Regions from separate parts of the Homo sapiens genome. Here region 2 is linked to region 1. Evidence: promoter capture Hi-C in 16 types of primary human blood cells and fetal thymus (Javierre and others, 2016). All regions are on one chromosome and are shown on one strand. Each heading gives the region's core, a stretch centred on a gene start or on the middle of the fragment in contact. The rest is flanking DNA. Distances are from core to core; before and after follow the strand shown. Region 1 holds the start of SIRT1 (sirtuin 1). Region 2 overlaps HERC4 (HECT and RLD domain containing E3 ubiquitin protein ligase 4).

Evidence for each region. Contacts are between HindIII fragments. The CHiCAGO score rates a contact against its expected background, and 5 or more counts as called.
Region 2: a contact is called between a fragment that was not itself captured here and the fragment with the promoter of SIRT1 in region 1, in 1 of 17 cell types (M1 macrophages). The highest score is 6.4, in M1 macrophages.

What each region holds. Positions count from the first base shown.
Region 1 is chr10:67,882,620-67,887,585 of GRCh38, reverse strand. SIRT1 (sirtuin 1) reads right to left here and starts at 2,930. Exons shown (of 9, transcript NM_012238.5): 1 at 2,435-2,930; 2 at 53-169. The coding sequence starts at 2,864. RefSeq lists silencers at 2,225-2,344, 2,141-2,435, 2,870-3,054, 2,555-3,094, promoters at 2,862-3,037, 2,864-3,075, 2,863-3,894, 2,865-4,966 and enhancers at 3,175-3,334, 3,355-3,414. The HindIII fragment of the contact is 7,021 bases long and covers 1-4,966 here.
Region 2 is chr10:67,955,004-67,959,969 of GRCh38, reverse strand. HERC4 (HECT and RLD domain containing E3 ubiquitin protein ligase 4) reads left to right here. Exons shown (of 25, transcript NM_015601.4): 17 at 2,994-3,092; 18 at 4,840-4,966. Among named protein-coding and RNA genes, the nearest start is that of SIRT1, 73 kb to the right of the region's middle. The HindIII fragment of the contact is 3,653 bases long and covers 171-3,823 here.

The DNA of each region.
Region 1 (4,966 bases), core at 1,681-4,180:
CAAACCAAAAACCGTACATTTACTCTCTAAAATTAACAGCTCTGAGCCATACCTATCCGTGGCCTTGGAGTCCAGTCACTAGAGCTTGCATGTGAGGCTCTATCCTCCTCATCACTTTCACAGGAATGAAAACCATTAGTGATAATTTCATCACCGAACAGAAGGTTATCTGCAAAAGAAACCAAGTCAGTCAAGGCTATCAAAACAACATGCACCTAAAATGTATGAACGGTTATAGAGCAATCATTTTCATCGAGTACAGCATTTAACATTTACACGGCGTGTGTAAAGCATGCCTATGGGGTCAGCTTGCACTGTTCATTGGAACAGTTTCTTCATCTTTAGGAATTCTGCTCACTCAGTTTCAGCCAAAATCTAAAAATAAATTAAGTCTACTTAAAAAACAGAAAAGATAGCCGGGAGCGGTGGCTCACGCCTCTAATTCCAGAGCTTTGGGAGGCCGAGGCAGGCGGATCACCTGAGGTTGAGAATTCGAGACCAGCCTGACCAACATGGAGAAATCTCGTCTCTACTAATAATACAAAAATTAGCCGGGCATGGTGGCGCATGCCTGTAATCCCAACTACTCAGGAGGCTGAGGCACGAGAATGGCTTGAACCCGGGAAGCGGAGGTTGCGGTGAGCCGAGATCACGCCATTGCACTCCAGCTTGGGTAACAAGAGCGAAACTCCACCTTTTAAAAAAAAAGAAAAGGAAAAAAAAAAAGAAAAGATAATAATCTAGCTAGAATGTATCATACAATCACAAACAATAGCGTTCGTGAAACGTGTAATAAATGGACATTTACATAAAAACGTCATTCAAATATAACCTTGGCAATGCGCACGTTAAACTTACACAATACTACAAGTACCTCTGCATTGTTTCCTCTATTAAATAAACAGTATTAATAACACAATTATTATTAGGTAAATAATAAATTAGTACTCAACTGTGTTGCTTGAAATCAGGGTCTCTTTACTAAATCAGTCCCTAAAAACACATATTACTTTTTTTTTTTTTTTTTTTTGAGACGGGGTCTCACTCTGTTGCCCACCCTGGAGTGCAGTGGCAGGATCACAGCTCACTGCAACCTCGAACTCTAGTACCTGGGACTAAAGGTGTGCGACACCACGTCCCGCTTTTTTTACTTTTAGTAGAGAGGAGGTCTCGCTATGTTGCCCAGGCTGGCCTGAAACTCCTAGGCTCAAGAGATCCTCCCGCTTTGGCCTCCCAAAGTGCTAGGATTACACGAAAGAGCCACCGCGCCCGGCCTGACCCAAATATTGATAAAGATGAACACCTATCAAGGATAGAAACTCCTCAGATCAAAAATAAGAAACCTGACCGGGCGCGGTGGCTCACGCCTGTAATCCCAGCACTTTGGGCGGCCGAGGCGGACGGATCACGAAGTCAAGAAATCAAGACCATCCTGGCCAACATGGTGAAACCCCGTCTCTGCTAAAAACACAAAAATTAGCTGGGCGTGGTGGCGGGTGTCTGTAGTCCCAGCTACTCGGCAGGCTGAAGGAGAATCGGTTGAACGCGGGAGGCGGAGGTTGCACTGAGCCGAGATCGCGCCACTGCACTCCAGCCTAGCGACAGAGCGAGACTCCGTCTCAAAAAAAAAAAAAAAAAAAAAAAGAAACCTTCAAGAACATGACAACTGCAACATATCTGCTTCATTATGCTAGAAGTGTTAAGTTTGTGTCTCAATACTACATACATACAAAAAAAGCATGTTTAGCCCAAACACCATTACCGCACAAGAGCAAGATTAGAATAAAAGTAATATGAACAGCTCTAAAAGTACTCTCTCTCCCATACCCACTCCTAACTGCATTACAGAATGGTAATGTCTTCAGGAACAGCCACGTTCTTTAAATTTTGCAAGCTGTGACTATAGAAACAGCTTTCCTCTTTCAAAAATTGTAATTTCAGTCATAAAAATATAGACCAAAAAAAGCAAACTGCACAGGTGTCAAGTTTGCAAAAAGCAATTGAAAACGCAGACCAACGGGACAGCCAAAAAGTTGCAGACTTAAGTGTGCTGGGGGGTAGAGGAGAAAAGCAATGAAAATAAAAAATAAAGAAAAAGAAAAAAAAAGCTCTAACAAAAGCAATATGCTAAAAGAGTAAGAGGGGGAGAGAAACTTATTTTAAAGCGACTGCGAGAGTCTCCCGACCTGGCTGCTGCGGAAAGAACAAGGCCGCCCAGGCGGGCCACGGACGGAGGAAAAGAGCGAATCCACTGGCAGCTCGCGCAGTAGGAACCGCAGCCCCGGAGGAGCGCGGCTGAACGGAGGGCCGGGGTGGGGAGGGGAACGCCGCGGAGCCTGCCCCGAGCCCCCAGCCGCCCTCAACCTCAGGCCAGTAGGAGCCCGGGGAGAGGGAGGAGGAGATGCGCAGTTCCGGCCGCCCGCACCCTGCGCACCTCGGTACCCAATCGCCGCCGCCGCCGCCTCTTCCTCCTCCTCGCCCTCGTCGTCGTCGTCTTCGTCGTACAAGTTGTCGGCCAGCGGTGGCTCCCGAGATGGGCCCTGCAGGCCCGGCCCATTGTCTCCTTCCCCAGCCGCCGCAGTCGCCTGGGCCTCTTGCTCCCCGCCTGCCGCCGCCGCCTCTGCCTCCGCCTCCCGCCACAGCGCCGCCGCCGCCGCACCCGGGCAGCCCCTGGCCGCCGCCGGCACCTCACGCTCTGGGGCCGCCCCACCGGGCTCGCCCGGGCTCCGCTCGAGGCCGGGACCATCTCTCCGCGGCCTCTTGCGGAGCGGCTCCCCGGCGGGGGACGACGCGGCCTCCCTGTCGGCCCCCGCCGCCGAGGGGGAGCCGCCGGGCTGAAGGGCGAGGGCCGCCTCGTCCGCCATCTTCCAACTGCCTCTCTGGCCCTCCTCCCTCGCCTCCTCTGCTCCCGCTCGACGCGCGGCACTGGCGCCCCCGCGGCTCCGGCTGCGGGAGATTTAAACCCCATCACGTGACCCGCCCCATCGCCGCCCCCGCCCTCTCGGCGCTCCCGCCACCCACGCGGGCCAGACCACAACACTACGGGTCACGTGGCGGGCGGAGGCTGTTGCGTCTACCGCTCCGCCTGGGCTGGAAGCGCACTCGGCCCCGGCGGCCGGCGGCCCTTCCTCTTTGTGGCGAGCGTGTAGTGCAGCCAAATTCGCCCCTCGGCCGCTTTCTCAACTTCTCTTTCAAACTGACCTCAAATCACTACCGCCGGAACAGCTCAAGTTTTGGTCCGCCCTGGGAATTTCCACGTCTTCCTGAAGTGTACACCTGGCCTGCCTTAGCCTTGTCTATATTTAGCTAAGGGTTAAAACACAGCTGAAGCTGGCTAAGACTTAGCTCCCTGAAATACGTTGGATAGTCGTTCTGTTTTGTTAATAAGTAGGAAGAGAGGCAAAAGGAGGCGGCTCCTTTCCCACTCTCCTCACACCGTTCTGACAGCTCCTCTTTTGCTCCTTTTTCTGCTCCTTGCTTTTCTCCTTAGTCGGTTGCTTTTTTCCCCTCTCTCCCATCACTTGTAGGGTGGTATACATTGTAAAATCCTTGAAGGCATATGTCCTCCTGGGAAGACCTTTGACGTGGAGGTTTGGAGATCAGCCGATCTACTTTCTGGCCCCAGCTTGGCTTCAAACGTGTGTGAATTCCCTCCTCCGGGCCTCAGTTTTCTCACGTGCAGAATGGGTTTGTTGGGTCAGTATGAGAGCATGGGAAGGAAATGACTTGGCCTCCATGCACATCTGCCCTTGGTTAAAATTTGGAGTCCTTCCTTTCTAGCGTGAGCTATCTAGCCGTTTCTAAACTTAATTTTTCTCATGTCTTAAATGGTAATAAGTATTTTAAAACGTCATAGATTTAAATGAGATAACCAGATGTAAAACGAGGGGTACCTAGTAGTTCAAAAGGCTTAGTGGAAAGCCCTTCCACTTTCCTCTCTCCCTGAAATTCTGGCACACTGTGACTCCATATCTAATCTTAACTAAGGACCCATATAACCCATGGTAGATCTAGAGCCAGTGTTTGTTATGGCATCTGCCTGGAGCACAGCGTTTCTATCTGTTTAAAGGACCTCTACGAGTTTATGGTACACTGTCCCTTAAGCCTAGTATGGGTTCTGGCCATACTGCATCAATTACCTGCGTGACTTTAGGCAACCAACTTAAAGCTGTTTCTTCATCCTTAAAATAAAAAATAAAAAGCTGGAAATATATCGCTAAGGTCCTATCTACATCCAAAAGTCTTATTTCATCTGGTCACCACTATTCATTTCTGAAAGTAATCATCTCCAGTCCTAGAAGCCTTAAAACCATCTTTGGTTGCGTGGGGGTCAAGGGGAGGGAGAGCATTAGGACAAATAGCTAATGCATGCGGGACTTAAAACCTGGCTGGGCGCGGTGGCTGCTGCCTGTAATCCCAGCACTTTGGGAGGCCGAGGCGGACAGATCACCTGAAGTCGGAAGTTCGAGACCAGCCTGACCAACATGGAGAAACCCCGTCTCTACTAAAAATACAAAATTAGCCGGGCGTGGTGGCACATGCCTGTAATCCCAGCTACTCAGAAGGCTGAGGCAGGAGAATCGCTTGAACCCAGCAGGCAGAGGTTGCGGTGAGCCGAGATCGCACCATTGCACACCAGCCTGGGCAGCAAGAGCGAAACTCCGTCTCAAAAAAAAATATAAATAAAACCTAGATGAGGGGTTGATTGGTGCAGCAAACCACCATGGCTCACCTATAAGTATGTAACAAACCTACACATTCTGCACCTGTATCCTGGAACTTAAATTAAAAAAAAAATCTTTGAAGCGTTCCTTCATACCAATCCCTCTGAAATCCATCTGACCAATCAATGACCAAATCCTGTTGTCCTTCCTTTCTTGCTACACTCCTCCCAATTCCTGACTAGGCACCACACTCCTAGTGGTTGACATACTTGGTCCTCCCCACTTTCTGTCTTACACTACAA
Region 2 (4,966 bases), core at 748-3,247, 73 kb before region 1:
AATGCCCTCTCTTCTGGGGTAAAATTAATTCCTCACAACACAAGGCACCGTCCACAAATTTAGTAACATATTTCTGAAGATTCTGGTGCTTTACACGAGTCTGTGCTCTGAGCATATGTGGAAACTTTCTACAAGAAAATGTACATTTCTGTTCAATAAAGTGGTAAGCTTTCATTATAATTTCCACTATTACTGCCTTAATAAATATATCTTTCTCTCTTCATTTCTTTTTGCTTACCAACCCTTTTTCCCTGTCCTGTACTTTCTATTTTAAATTAATTCAGTTTTAAAGAATGCTTAATGTAAGATACCTTATGTTTTACTGTTTTTTTTTCTGTCAAATAAAAACAATTTATGGCTTATTTTTTCTTACTTTGTGTCCATATGGCATTTTAATCTACTAAACACTGTCAGACATTTTGCTGAGATTTTAAAGTCTTAAAGTCTGAGGAATGTTTTTTCCATTTTTTTTAAGTAGAAAAACTGAGCCATAAATTTTTTTTTTTAAGACCAAGCCAGGCATAGGATTAGTTTTCTTATTCTGCCTAAATTCTGCAAATGGGGGTGTTTAATTGCTGAAAACAAATTTCATTATGTTCAAGCCTCAATCATTTTATGATCACAAGGTACCTGAAACAAAGATCTTACATTAGTAGATATATAAGATGCTTGTGTAGGGGGTGTATTTGATTGTAGATGTATTTTCTACCTCATTACTTCAATATTCTGCTGTAGCAAAATATATGAAATGCTACCTTGAATAGAAATAGTTAAATTTGGACACTAATATTGCTCTTTCCTCGTTATTGTTATATTCTGCACTGCTGTCTTAGGATGTCAACCATGGATTAACTGAGGTAAGTTTGGTGTAATAAAGCTCATGTTTAGAGTAAAATATACTCCATTTTCTCCTGAGTAATAGAAGAGCCAAAGATTCGTTTTTTTGGTGTGGTTAAAAAATGTAAATAAATAGATATATATGTATCATTTTTTAAAATACAGTCTGTAGAGATTATCTTGTATAACATTTCAGAAGTTTTCTGAAGAAAATGAAATTCTGTTAACATTACACCTATATGATGCCTCAACAATATTTGCTTTAGAATAGTTTCTGTCCTCCTCAAGTCTTCCAGTATAAAATGTAATGTGTCCTCAGAATATAAAAAAGCAAACTTTTATTTTAAAATTTAGCAAATGCCTACCTAATGTGGCTGAAAACATTTTATATTAGAGAAGTAAAACAAACTTCATTTTTAAAATTGATTAATTGATACTCAGAATGGTCACAAAGTTAAACTTTTTGTATGATTATCTTTCTCACTTCTAATATATAAAGTTCTAGCACTTTGGTTTAAGTAATCAACAACCCTAGACTACCCTTTTAACACTTGGGAACATTATAATACTTTCTTTATCCGTTATAGATGTCAGGTTTTGCTTTGATTTGCATTTTGTTGGTTGCTATGTTTTTCCCAGCACTTGAACCAATGAAGCATTTTGAGTTAGCTTTAAATTATAGCTCTAATATTGTTTGCTTCCTCATTGTCAAATAGAATTAGCACATAAAATTATGAAAACATAGAGTTTTGAAGCCAAAGGGTGCTTTGGAGATATCTAAATCTTTTTGAATTTCAGAGAAGTAAAATTAGTTTTTATGATCATTAGCTAGGCAGTGCCACAAATATAGGATGGAGGTAAACCTTGTCACATGAAAAATACTGAAGAGTGAATGTTTAGAATGTAATAAAATACAATTTAGGGAGAGCATGATTAGGACTTAAAATATTTAAACTACGTACACTTCCCAGCAGGGGCAAAGCAAAGACTAAATGATGCATAGTGATATATAGAAATGCAGATTCAGGCTGGGCACAGTGGCTCACGCCTGTAATCCCAGCACTTTGGGAGGCCGAGGTGGGCGGATCATGAGGTCAGGAGTTCAAGACTAGCCTGGCCAACCTAGTGAAACCCCATCTCTACTAAAAATACAAAAAATTAGCCGGGTGTGGTGACAGGCACCTGTAATCCCAGCTACTCGGGAGGCTGAGGCAGGAGAATCGCTTGAACCCCAGAGGCGAAGGTTGCCGTGAGCCTAGATCGCACCATTGCACTCCAGCCCCGGCATCAGTGCAAGACTCTGTATGGGGGAAAAAAAAATGCAGATTCAGACTATAAAGAACTGTCTAATCACTAAGAAGTGGATTGTTTTAGGGTGTATTAATTCTTCATTAGAAGTCTCATAGCAGGGGCTCTGAGTCAGGGCAGGCACAAAGATATTGTTTTACTGGGTAGATGGTAGAAGTAGGTCGTCCTCCAACTACAAGAATGTGTGACTGGCAATTCATAACTCTTTATATTTTACTGCACTATTAAAATACTTAGCAATCAATATATTACCTGCCAGGATAAGTAATTGTCTATAAAGTGTCTAATGTCTAATAATGATAATAATAGATCAGTTCTCGTAACTTTAAAGGCTAACAGAATAGTAATACTAATGGTACTTTTTTGTATATTAAGTAAATGAAGAGATTATTGGACTCATAATAATTTTGATACCCTAATGACATTATACTCAATATCTGTTAAATGAAGGAATAGACAGATTACTTATCATTAGCCTCAGTTGCTGCAGTTGCCCTAACATGTAAGAATTGGCTATCGCATTTAACATAGGAGCCCCCAATTTTAGAACAAATTTGCAACCTCATTCACTGAGATTTGCAATTAACATATGCTAAGCAAAAGATACTTGCAGTATATGATTGTATAGACTCTCAAGTATACAGTCGCCCCCTAAAATTGGGAATTGGGTTCATTCCAATGCCTCATTTAATTTTTAATAATTCTGTAAGCAGCATGTTTTATTTGTAATTCCAGAACCACATGAGTGAATAAACAAAGAATGTAGTCCACTTTATAAGAAATGTCAGCATCCACAGTAAGTATATCACAAATCAACTTGTACTAATAAGTTAATTTTTTATTTCCAGTTGGCAGATATCCCTGTTACAATCTGTACATATCCATTTGTATTTGATGCCCAAGCAAAAACTACTCTGTTACAGACCGATGCAGTCTTACAGATGCAGGTAAAATATTATTTGAGAGGGTTTTTTTTTTTAATTGTTTCTTTGATGTTTCTGGACAGTAAATATTTGAAATTTTCCTAGGATCAGTAATGAAGGTACACAAAGTACTTTGGGTAGCTATAAAGAAGACTGCTGCATGTGATATGTATATTCTTATGAGAACATTTATAAAAAAAGGTTGCAGTGAAAATGGAATAACTTAACCTATAATCATTTTATATATTAAAAATTGTATAAGCCTCTTTCATTACAGAAATATTCAATCTTTATAAACCGTTTTACTAGTTTACTTGATAAGATGTTGGTTTGTTTCAAAATCTTGTTTCATTATATGTCCCCTTTTTATATGCTTGGTAAGAGATGGAAGTCACTAGAGGTGAGAGATGTTAAAAGTAGGAAGCATTTGATCTCGTTAGGAAGAAGATGTGAAATTTCCTTGAAGAAAGTTTCAATAATAAGGTATTAAACATGTTCCTGGGGTTGGTCACCATTATCTCCTATTCCTCTTTCTTTTCCCCTTCCTATCACCCTTTCCCATCCATTTTATGTTGAGAGTTCTTTCATTTATAGAGAGGATTTTTTAAACTAATTCATATTATGACTTTAAAGGGTTACAGTAAGTTTGCTTTATCATTTGATCCTGTAAATAAAAAAGATTTTGAGCTGCTTCCTCTGGTATAGAATATCTGACTATACCAACTAAGGATTAAGGAAAGGATGAAAAGAAAGCTTGAATATTTAATAGTCTAAAAATATTTTAAAAAATTAAAAACCTTCAAATCTTGGTAACCATTTTTATTCTGTTCAAATAAATGCATTTGGTATTCTAAATATTTTTGTAGTGTTCTATACTAACAGCTAGTAAGCCAATTTTTTGGAGGTCTTTGTTAAAACGATAAGTTAATAACTTGGTGATTTTACCATGGGATATTCCATTTTAGAACAAGAACTCAGGGAGAACCATAATAAAAGAACAAAAGTTTTAAATGGTAAAAGTCAAATCCTTGGTTCGTGAGCACATACCATGATCACTTAGTTAAGTGAATTTGTGTAATGCTTCCTTAGCCAGATCATTCCTTATTCTTTGTTTTTTATTTTTTATTTTTGAGACGGAGTTTCGCTCTTGTCGCCCAGGCTGTAGTGCAGTGGTACAGTCTCAGCTCACTGGAACCTCTGCCTTCCAGGTTCAAGTGATTCTCCTGCCTCAGCCTCCTGAGTAGCTGGGATTACAGGCACACACCACCACGCCCTGCTAATTTTGCATTTTTAGTAGAGACAGGATTTCACCATGTTGGCCAGGCTGGTCTTGAACTCCTGACCTCAAGTAATCTGCCCTCATTGGCCTCCCGAAGTGCTGGGATTACAGGCGTGAGCCACTGCGCCCAGCCTGTTCCTTATACTCTTTAAAGGTTTGTTTTTGCTCCTCCCTCTTTACCCTCCCCTCCAGTGAATGTTTTTTAGAAAAACCAATGCTCAGATTTATCAGTATTACTACCGTTCTGTACTGGCTTACTCTAATGGTGTTATGAGTTATACATTATACATTAGTATAAAAACATTCAAAAGGGTACTCTTTATGCTCAGTTTATTAAGTTTTATGCTGTACGGGATACTGTTAGGTGCTATGTTAATTCAGTAGCATAGGAATTATAGAATACCTGTAACTAATAGGTAGAGGTTAGCTTGTTTCAGTCACAGTAGCTTTATTGTAGCATTGCTGTTAAAATGTTAATCTTTTGTTTTCCAGATGGCTATTGATCAGGCCCACAGGCAGAATGTCTCCTCTCTTTTTCTCCCAGTGATTGAATCTGTGAATCCCTGCTTAATTCTAGTGGTGCGTAGAGAAAATATTGTAGGAGATGCAATGGAAGTCC